Regions from separate parts of the Homo sapiens genome. Here region 2 is linked to region 1. The links are contacts of gene promoters, found by promoter capture Hi-C in blood cells and fetal thymus (Javierre and others, 2016). All regions are on one chromosome and are shown on one strand. Each heading gives the region's core, a stretch centred on a gene start or on the middle of the fragment in contact. The rest is flanking DNA. Distances are from core to core; before and after follow the strand shown.

Region 1 (5,360 bases), core at 1,063-3,562:
GCCTTAGTCATTCATGTTTGGTTACAAGATCTACTGAAATACCTGCCTCCAAACAGCAGCAGACTGTCTCTTCAGAGACTTCTGCGGTGCCAAGCCCTGGGGTTTCAAGAAGAAAGCAAAAAATGATTTCCTTTCCTTAACCAAAACACTACATTTTACTTGGGGCGCAGCAGTCTTTACTGCTGCACTCCCATCTCCTCCACCCTTCTTTTCTGGGCAGTTCATTAGCATACGACTCAATGAGGCTAACTTCTTAATCCAGTACATATTAAAAGATCTTGTCATCTTGTCAATAAGGCACTTCCCTCTCTACCTATTTCATATTGCAACCACCAAAGTCCCTACTCCTCTGCACTGTTTTTCAAAAGCACCTGCCACCATTGAACTTGTTCGTCTGTCTCCCATAGCAGAAACAAGGACAAAGACTTCTGTTTTATTCTGCGGGAGGCCCCAGTACCTAGAACTGTGCCCAGTACATAGAAGATGCTCATGAATAAGTAAACAGATGCAAATCACTGAAAGCTACTTTTCGGTAACTGAGTAAACAAGTACTATTTTAATTATTATACTTAAAACCTTTGCACATAAAAGTGCACAGTCATTCTTTCTACCACAAATTAAACAGAAATTATCTCATCTTGTTTTTGAACAGGCTTTTCCAGATAATGCACAGCGCATTTTTAAAAGTCCCAAGGACATGAAATGAACATACATTTCGTTTTTAACAGTTAACAGGGGATACTTGTAAGAAACTTAAGGTTACACAGGAAGTGGTCAAAATCAAAAAGTAAAGATCACAAAGTGATCTTTCGTTGTTTTCATACTATAAAAACACAATGCCTCTGTTACTAAATGCAAAATGTAAAGCTCTGGCAAACAAAGTAAAGCAACCCTGTTCTCTCTTAAGAGGGCAGGGTGGAAAACCAATGACTGCCAGATGAAAACTAATTTATATCACCACAAACTATTTCTTAAAAATTTCATTAGCAGCCAAATACAAAATTATTTACTATCTACCTACTGATAAGGGTTTTCCATTACTATATGCTCAAAGACAAACCTTACAACTATAGTTTCGGGAGGCATAAATTTGCTTACCTCAGGAGGTCCCACAAAAATTCAGCTGAGGCCAGGTAACAGCAGTTTCCTGCAGAGATCAGCTACTTCCTATCACCATAGTGGTCGAAGAATCAAACGAAGTAATATCAGATTTCTACTCTGGAAGCCTAAAACACTTTTCCCTTTAAGCAAAAAAGCAAGCATTCCTTAGCTAGCAATCTCAGGCCAAACTCCCAACAAGCTCATCTCTGCTGTCTTATTCAAATATAAACCATCATGGTTTCAAGCAGTAACAGCACTCGCCTATTTCACACAGCTGACGCCTCTTAGGCCGTCAGGAATTTAAATCACCTTCTTGCCCACAAAGTATTTTTCTTCCAAAACAAACTGAAAAATATAGGCTCTTTGGCAACATTTTTGGAAGTACAACATAAACTTATCACAATAATTTTTAAACTGCAGACAACTAAAGGGAAGGAAGAAAAGCACTACTATATATACATACATATTTGAGGTCACCTCCTCCTGATGCTAGAGACTATCAACTGCTCAAAAGAAGGAAAACAAAATAAAGATTTCAGTCCCCACACTTAGCTGCGAATAGCTAACAAAGGGAATTAACATGCGGTCAATAACAAGAGGCTACTAAAAACTCTGACAGGTTAGGAAGTTTTCATTTCAGTTTCAAATTCAAATTCATACTGTAAAGTGGTGATGAACACATCCCATCCGCAGGTACTTAACCTCCATACAAATAAGAACTACCTCTCATATGGGCAAAAAGATCAAAATTCTACAGAAGAATCTGATGGCTAAATGGCTAATTTGCAAAACACAATGCCCTGTACATTTTGAGGACATCCTAAAACATGTGTAAACTTTTCAGAATTCAGTTTACCAAAGTTATCAAACTTAAAAATGATTAAAATTTATTTGCTACTGCAAAGAATTCAACCAATTTCTCCAATGACTACTCCATATTCATTTTGAAAAACAGTACCGGATTTAAAGCTTACACAACAAAATTCACAAAAGTGTTATATGTGCCTATATGACATATAGGCACAAATAACTGCAGACATTCTGAAGCTAACACTGCTCAACCAGGAAAAAAAAAAGACTGCAATTGGATATGTAATAACAGCTATTTAAGACGGCAGTAACGTGTTAAAATGGTTCATAAAAATCACATCATAAGGCCCTGAAATTCTAGTAAAAATATCTCTAAGTAAACTTGTGAACTACTACTAAATAACTAATTTTCTCTCTCTCTGTAGTCACTCATTTTATCTTTGGATTACTTTCCCATTCTATCACCACGTTGCTTTCTCTGAACTTCATTTTACATTTGCATATTATTTATTCCATTAGCAATTGCTCATCCCAGTCTGAATCTCAAAATTCTACTATAGGAGGCATTTGGCATTCTGTGGAATAAGAGAATTTTGAGATGGAAATGATCAACCAGCTCAAAACCTCGTAAGCTAGAGTTCAGTTAAGCTTAGCACAATGATGAAAACAATTTCTCATTAAAACTTCTTTCATTCCCTCTACAGAAGCAGTAACCCTGGGTACAGTTAAAACTGCCTGGGTCTTTAAGCTTTGTCACCTCGGACAAGTCATTATACCTAACCTCCCAGGGCCTCAGCTTCCAGAGTAGTTAAATGGAAAAACAATAGCATCTATCTCAGGTTATTAGATTATGAAATGAGTTAACACACGCAAACAGGCTGAAAGAGTCCCTGGTGCGCAGTGCAGGTATTAGTCATTTAGAGGTATAGTTACTATTACAGGAAGGTAGTAACTTAGAAAGACTTACCTTTAAGGTCCAACAACCTAATCTACATATTTGTATATTTCTAAGGTAAGAGAATTTTTAAAAGTCTATTTTCACCCCGTAAACCTAATGCAGGAGGATAAGGCACGGGTTACTACAGGAAAAAGTAATGCAGACTGGGGGATGCGAACCAAAGCACAGACGAATGTGCCCCGACGATTCCTCCGAGAACATAATGAAATGGCGGACCTTCCTGCCAGAGGAGCGCACAGTCACCCAGGCAGGTGATGTGACACACACGTTAGGGTCTAAAGGTCCCAAGGCTGGAGTCCCCTTTACTGGACCCTAAACATGTCTGCCTCCTGCCCCGCAATCAGACTTAGAGAACTGTGGACGGTGGAAAGTCTTATCATGACCAGGCCATCCTTCGCTGGGGTGAACGGAAAGCATTCAGAAGGGGAAAATTGAAAACAACAAAGACTCTGGTCAGGTCAAAAAATACAAATGTGACCTCTTCCACCATCTCTGAACTGAAAGAAAAGCATGGCACTTTCCCATCCATAACATGTACAATTTTTTTTTTTGGAGATTTTGCTTTTCCCTTGTGAAAGACGGTTTTAAATAGTAAACAGACTTGCTGCCCACCTTGGCTGGGAAACCAAGTCCCGTGAGTAACTAGTCTAAGGCCACTCAGGCCAGTCCTCGGGGAGCGCACGCCGCCCAGCTCGCTCCCACCGCACAGCTCCCAACAGCTAAGAAGCAACGCCAAGGACTTTCTTCCCCGTCAGACATGCCCTCGGCCACACCAAACTGACATCAAAACCCCAGTTAGCCCAGCCTGACCCCACAGAGGCTCACGATGACAACCGCCCTACGGAAAAACTCAAATTCCTAAACATCTAATAAAGAAGTCCTGGACGTCTCCACCTTAAAAACGGGAAGCCTGAACGCTCCGGCGCGCCCGGCCGTGTAACCGCCACAGCCCCCGCACGCGGGGCGGGCTGGGCTAGCGGGAGATTTGAGCGGCCGCCGCCTCTCGCCGTCTTCGCCTCCTCCAAGGGGCCGCCGCCCAGGAGGCCGCCCGCGGCGCAGAACAAAGCGCCTTGACCTTCAGTGAGGCGGGCAGCCGGGCGAGGCGCGCCGGGAGTTGGGAGGGGCCTCCCGCCAGCGCCCCAGGCCCGGGCTCCAGGCCCCAAGCCCCAGGCCCCGCCGCGGCCGCCGCTGCCTGCCCCGACCAGAACGCGGCCCCGCCCCTGCCCCACCGCCCCGAGGCTTCCAGAGATGGCCGCCGCCGCGCCCGCGCCGGACCCGCGGCCCCACCCGCCCGTCCGGGCCCGGCCGCCCTCCCCAGCGCGCCGTTACCGGCCCAGCACCCGTGTCTCCGCACCTCACGCCTCCTGCGGCAGTGGCGGCGACCCTAGCTTCGCTCGCTTTGGGGCTGCGCCGCCGTGGCCTCCAACAACGCCGGCTCCCATTGGCCGAGGCTCCTAGCTCCTCTCTCCGCGAGCAAGACAGGCTGCGATTCGCCGAGCGCGGCGCAAGTCAACTGCGCTTCGCGCCGCAGTCAGCAACCAATCACAAGCCTCCGAAGAAACGCCGCGCCATATGCAAATATTCCTCCGCGCGGCGCGCGCCCTGCGTTCCTCCGCCTCTTTAAATGGGGCGGGGCAAGGTGGAGACCGCGTGTGTGGTTCCGGGGGGTCCCGGGTCCCCGCTCCCGGGACCTTCCCCGGGTGGCACCACATCCTCGCGGGACACTGGGCACCACCCCTCTCCGTGGGCCCCGGCCCCAGCCGTCTTTATCTCCTGCGCCCTCCCAGTTCCCTAGTTCAATCCCGTCCGCGGCGGGTCGGTGCCTCCAGCACTCCGTGCGCCCGCTGATGTGAGAACCCCACCTCCCATGTCGTCCCCTCGCGCTACTCCTTGAGAACATCGCGGAGGGCCCCTCCGCCTGGGAGCCGTTTTCAACCAGCCCCGTTAGTGGTTGGGACGTAAGCCTAACCCCCGCTCATCCCCCAGGTCCCAGGTTGGAGAACACTTCCTCTGCGAAGAGGTCGGGGCTGGGTCACCTCCGCGGACAGGACGGGACTAGCCACTGCCTGCATCTCTTCCCCCACGCCCTGAGCCCCGCAGTGTCCCAGCAGCCTAGTTCTGGCCTGCGGGAGACCCTGTCGGACAAGGAGGAAAAGCAGTGCGCACTGGGCCCTCAGATCAGCCCCCTGAAGCAGAGCAGGGCAGAGGGCTGGGGAGGAGCTGGCCTGTTTCGCCCGCCCTGTTCTCCCTCTCATGGTGCCCTCTGGGCTGGGGTGAAGGTACCAGCCCCAGCCTGTGCACATCACATTTTGTAGAAAGGCATCCAATTTGATTGGAAAATAACCCCTACGCTGGGACTTTTGAGGCTGGTTCATTTCCATGTTCAACCGTGCCATTGGGGGTCTTCAAGTCTAATGTGCATTTTTTTCAGAAACGTTCTCTTTTGGGATGACGTTACTTTTGAAACAATTGCTAATTATTATTATTATTA
Region 2 (5,518 bases), core at 2,792-5,291, 850 kb after region 1:
AAAAAAAAAAAAAAGCTGAGCCTCAGGACCAGGACAGCTCTGGCTGGGGGAGCCAAGGAAGCTGCCCCCTCCCCCACGCAGCACAGAGGAAGGGTGCACACTGGCTTCCTCCTCCCCGCCTAGCAGCAGCTCAGCAGTCCCTGGGCCCCACCAAAGGCCTGTGAAGTGGCACTTCCTTTGCCTTTGCTAATTTCACATGAGGCTGTACAGAAGTGCCATCCTGCAAATCCTGGCACCCCCACCTGAAAATACCCACAGAGAGACCCAGGGCTGCCCAGTCCCTTTAGCCCCGCCCGAGGCCTGAGGGGGTTTCCACAAGGGAAAATAACACCAGGGAGGAAACTCCGGCATCTATTTTCCACTGTCAGTGAGGCAGAGCTGGAGTAGGAGACAGGGTACTCCCCCATCTTACTACCCCCTGGCAAAATCCCCAACATTCTCTGCCTTCTTATCTCTCAAGCTCTAACAGTCCTTGTGCTTGGGGAAAGGGCAGTACTATCCCTGGACAGATATGTATGTACAGACTACTCGGACCTGTCAAATTGAGGCTGGTAAGACACAAGGGCCCAGAGTGAGGGGCACTGCTATGAGCAGTCTCTTGGGGGAGGAAGAGTCAGAGCCATGATGTTCACTGTTGCCTTTGGAGGTACTGATATGCAACTCCTTAATGCTAAAATAGAGCCAAGAGAAACCAAGTTGACCAGGTAGCAAATCTACGACAAGGATCCGGATCTTCTAGCCTCCACCCTTATGCTACTTCTACAAAGGAGAGAAGGTGAGGATTCTAACTCTGGCCTGAGAATGGGCCATCTCTTTAACCTCATTCAGGAGAACGCTACCATGGTTTATTCCTTCAGAAAATGGGCCAAAGGGTGGGTTGACTTACATCTGAGCCTTTTTGCTTCCAAGTTCCCAGGCTCTCATGCCTAGCCCATCCTGGTGCATTCATGATTTAGCACTGACATTACTCAATAGCCAGCCACTCTGGCCCTGCCCTAGCTGAGAAGCTCCTCCTCTGGCCTCTAGCTCCTGGAGAGATGCCCTCCCCCCATATGAGATGAGGACAAAAGAGGAAGCTGGACCCTGGACAGGAAAACCAGTCTGATCTGGGGAGGTGGCCCAGGCTTTGTCTTTGGTTTCCCTCCTCAGCTCTTGTCACGGACCCCTACTGACCTCACCACTAATGGGTCTACAGTATATAGAAGGAGTCTTCAGTGTGGGCCTGAGCCCCCTTCTTCATGTCACAACCTTGACCATACCTGTTTAGCCAAGACTTCAGCGGCAGCCTCCTAGGTTGTAGCCACCACCTCCCTTTACCCCCCAATATTTTCCCATTAAAATCTCTCCCGCCCTGGTCACATTTTTTCCAATGATGCCTTTTTTGCAATTAGCTCAAACTTCCAATGGGGCCAGATCTCACCTGGGAGAATCCCTGTCTCACCCATCTTGTCTTTACCATCAGAGCCCTGTGGGTTTGCTCAGTTACGCAGAATACTAAAGTAACTACTGGTTTGCCAGCCTAGGAACTGGGACTCCTGGGGTTTTTATTAAGCTGTGATGCTGGGAAAGTGCCTTGTATGCACATCCTTCTCTAACCTGGGCTCTTATGTAGGTCCCTGGGATTTCTTCCCGGACCCAAACTTCTGTACCTCCAAGAAATGGGAAGAGAGACAAGTGGTTGGAAGGGCAGGACTGGAAGAAGAACAATTCATGGGAGAGGGACGACTGTGACATGGGAAGATGACAGAATGGGGAACAGGGAGAGCCCTTAAATTTAGCTGTAGCACTTACTCCCCTCTACTTCTCTTTTTTTCTAGTGGAGAGAAATGAATACAGATGACTAGAGGAGGTAGACAGGAGCAAGATCCTCAGATGCACCCCAAAAGCTTGAGGATGGAGCTCTAGAGTGGAAACAAGAGCCTCCATAGCCAGGATGGACTGAAGTTAAATTTGGGAGGAATTCCTGAGAAGGAATAGGGTCCTAGGTGAGATGGGGAGTATTAAGGATGCCTGAAGGCAGAGGGGTCAGTAGAACTCCAGAGGGCTTCCTGGTCACTAAGGCCCTGATGCAGATCAGGGCATGCGGGTACCCAGCCTAGGCAGGCCCCAGAAGGTAGCAGGAAAGGAGCAGACACTTTTGCCTCCGCCGCTTCTTAAGTCCGAAGTTAGACCAGCTGCAGTCTTTCCTCCAGAATCCTGCATTTGCCTCCTCCCTTTATTTCCATCACACCCAAGCTGGTCCCATTCTTTCCACCAGGTGATGCTGGAACTAGTAGGTAATGGAGTCAGGGACCTTCAGGCTGTCTTCCGGCTTCTAGGCCTGGCCTCTTGGTCAAGCACCACGGGTTGGGGTGATTTTGATTTCCCACGGCCTCTCTTACAAGTCTTATTCCTGTGTCACCCTACCCTGACTGCTACAAACGGCTTCCTCCTGCCTAACCACAACCTCACTCACTGCAGGTTCCCTTCATTCTGCTGGCTTCCCTTGCTCTGGGCCCTCTCAAGGCTGAGGGCAGTTATTTTGTCTGTAAGAGATAAAGATGTAGTCACACAGACACGCGCGCGCGAACACACACACACACACACACACACACACACACACACACAGGCTTTCCATCTCTTTAATCCATCTCTAAGAGATGAAGATGTAGATACACAGACACGCGCGTGCGAACACACACGCAAACACACACACACACACACACACACACAGGCTTTCCAGCTCTTTAATCCGTCTCTATCACTGGGAGGCTGCAGACTGCCTCTCCAAGCTAGGGAGGTTTGAAAAGACTCTAGAACTCACTAAGTCTTCAACAACTGATTCCAAAGCTGGAGATAAGTGGGTGGGAGGGAAGGATACAGAGAGGGTGACAGGCTGAGGGTTCAAAAGGAATGAGGGGTGATGGAAGAAACCAGGAGGTGCATGTGTGTGGGTGCCAGAGCTGGGAAGGGAAGGGATGGGGCAGGTTGCAGAGGACCAAGACGAACATGGGGCAGGGTAGGTGAAGACAGGTCAAGGCCTAGGTATGACCGTATGTTTGGAGGAAAAGAGACTGGAAGGGATGAGAAGAGAGTGATGGCGGATTTGTGGGTAGAAACTAAAGAAGGTGTGGAGGGAGACGACAGGAGCATGTGTATAATTCAGGGACTAAGAATGAAGAGGAACACTAGGAGATGGTTCTCAATTGTCCCCAAAAGACACAACAAAAACTTGTCAGGGACTATCAGTACCTCTGAATGAGAGTCCTTCCACTTCCAGTTACAGGGCAAGACCAAGTTACTCCCAAAAGAGCAAGGCCAGGCTCTGGTCAGCTAGGAACAGCGTCTGCTCACTAAATACCTACTGCTTGGCTCCAGGTAAGGTCGGGACTCAGGAAAACAGACATACAGACAACGACTGGGGTCGGCGGGGCTCCCCCACCCAACCCGGGTCCTCCTGAGTGCAGAGGGCCTTGGGGCTGCAGACCGAGTGTGGGTCTGTATTAGCATCCATCTGACAGGGAGAGAGCTTTCGGAGGCCCCAGACACCGCCCCTCTCACCCCAAGTGTCACAACTGCCAGAGCAGAGGGAGCGCCTTTTCCAGCCCAGAAGCCCTCTCCCCTCACGCACTTCTCAACACCCCCCCCACCAACTTCTGAGGACACCCCACCTGCGTCCGATCTCCCAGCTCTGAGCTCTTCCACTTCAGAGACACTTATCTTGGAGCCCGGGACCCTCCGACCTCAGGGGTCCCTCTCGGCTCCCTAGAGGCGGTACAGCCGCCGGGAAGCCACCCTCGCCGAGCCTCCGCCGGCTCGCAGTGGCCCCGTTCCCGCCCCGCCCGGCCGGCCGCGCCCGCCCTACTTGGACTGAACCGAGAAGCTCCCGCCCGCGGCCTCCGCCAGCAAACTCATGAGCCGGCGCCCGCGCCGAGTCCTGGGCCGGCCGGGCTCTCCTCCCCCGGACCCCTACCCGCCAGCCCCGGCCGGGCCTCACCTGGTGCCCTCCCCGAGGCGGGGGAGCTGGGGGCGGCGGCAGCGGCTCCGGGCTCGAGAAGGAAGTGAGAGCGGGAGGCCGGAGGAAGTGGGGGGGGCGGGCCGGCGAGGCGGGGCGGGCCGGGGCGGGGCCCGACCAGGAAGTCCGAGGGCCGATCTCCCCCTCTCCAGCCCCGGCCCGCCCCCAGCCTCGCCCCCGGCCCAGTCCCGGGCTTGCCACGTTCCCCTCCCAGTCCGCTGCCCCTGCGGTCAGTAAGTCAGGCCTCCCAAGGTCAAGTCTCTCCGCCTCCTCCTGGCCACCCTACCCCTGGAGGCCCTACCCTGGGCGCTAGGCGTTCGTCCTCTTCCCCCCATCCCGCCCCCACCAGCCTCCGCGGGAAGATGCTGAGAAAGGCGCCCCTGGGCCTGGTCCCTTCAGTCAACCCCAGGGATAGAGTGGTGGCCGAGGCTGGGGCAGTCCCCGCCCCTGCCCTGAGCCCCGGGGGAGTGCGAGGTGGTGGTGATTCAGCAGTGGGAAGGCCCCAGACCCCTGGGGAGGGTGGGGAGACTCGGGGGGAAGAGGAGCTGGCGTCAGCACCCAAGGGAAAGACAAGATCAGCAGAGGCGCAGGCGGAGCCGCGGGCCCCAAAAACAGGATGTCGAGTCGTCATTCAGCACCGTGCAGCCCTGCGAGGCCTGGCTCTGGGGAGGGGGCGGGGCGGACGGAGGACTTGGGGCTTCCCTCGCCCCCTCGCCCCCTGTTCTGCTGGGGCGCGCAGCTGCTTGGGGCTGAAGAGCCGCACCCAGGCCTGAGGTCCAGCTTGGGCCCCGGCGACCCGCGGGTGGGCGGGCTCATGGGCGCCCTCTGGTGCTTCGCTCCCTGGCTTTGCGCTCGGAGCTTTGACTTGAGAATCCATATCCTTCGTTCAGCACAAAGTTTCTGAGCGCCTACCACGTGGAGAGAGCTAAGTGCTAGGTGCTGTGAAGAAACACAGCGTTTAAGACAGGATCCCTGTCTTCCAGAAGCTTTTCAAATAAACGGATTGATTCCAGGAATAAATAGCTTAACCTTTCTGAGCCTCAAATCTGTCTTTGGTAAAATAGAATAATTATATTTCACCCCGTAGTTTTGAAGATAACATGAGAATGGGTGTAAAAGACCTGTTGTCAATGCGTATCTCAAACACTAAACAAATATCTTTTAAAAATATCATACCCTAAGAGTCTGGCGCGGTGGCGTCTGCCTGTAATTACAGAGATGGTGAAACCTTGTCTCTATAAACACAAACACACACATATTTTTTGACAGTCTCACGATGTCACCCAGGCTGGGGTGCAGTGGCACGATCTCGGCTCACTGCAATCTCTGCCTCCCAGGTTCATGCAGTTATCCTGCCTCAGTCTCTCGAGTAGCTGGGGTTACAGGTGCATGTCACCACACCCGGCTAATTTTCGTATTTCTAGTAGGGACGGGGTTTCACCCTGTTGGCCACGCTGGTCTCGAACTACTGATCTCAGTTGATCCACCTGCCTTGGCCTCCCAAAGTGCTGAGATTACAGGCGT

The links. Contacts are between HindIII fragments. The CHiCAGO score rates a contact against its expected background, and 5 or more counts as called.
Region 2: the fragment with the promoter of RHOG here is called in contact with a fragment that was not itself captured in region 1 in 2 of 17 cell types (fetal thymus and activated CD4 T cells); the score reaches 8.6 in fetal thymus.

What each region holds. Positions count from the first base shown.
Region 1 is chr11:2,988,031-2,993,390 of GRCh38, forward strand. NAP1L4 (nucleosome assembly protein 1 like 4) reads right to left here and starts at 4,299. Exons shown (of 16, transcript NM_005969.4): 1 at 4,224-4,299. RefSeq lists enhancers at 2,868-3,724, 4,269-4,563. The HindIII fragment of the contact is 489 bases long and covers 2,069-2,557 here.
Region 2 is chr11:3,836,918-3,842,435 of GRCh38, forward strand. RHOG (ras homolog family member G) reads right to left here and starts at 4,042. Exons shown (of 2, transcript NM_001665.4): 1 at 3,977-4,042. It overlaps LOC124902619 (a long non-coding RNA gene), which reads left to right and starts at 360. Exons shown (of 2, transcript XR_007062560.1): 1 at 360-775; 2 at 1,150-1,358. RefSeq lists an enhancer at 2,183-2,382 and silencers at 3,783-4,172, 4,223-4,272, 4,623-4,892, 4,933-4,982. The HindIII fragment of the contact is 3,094 bases long and covers 1,885-4,978 here.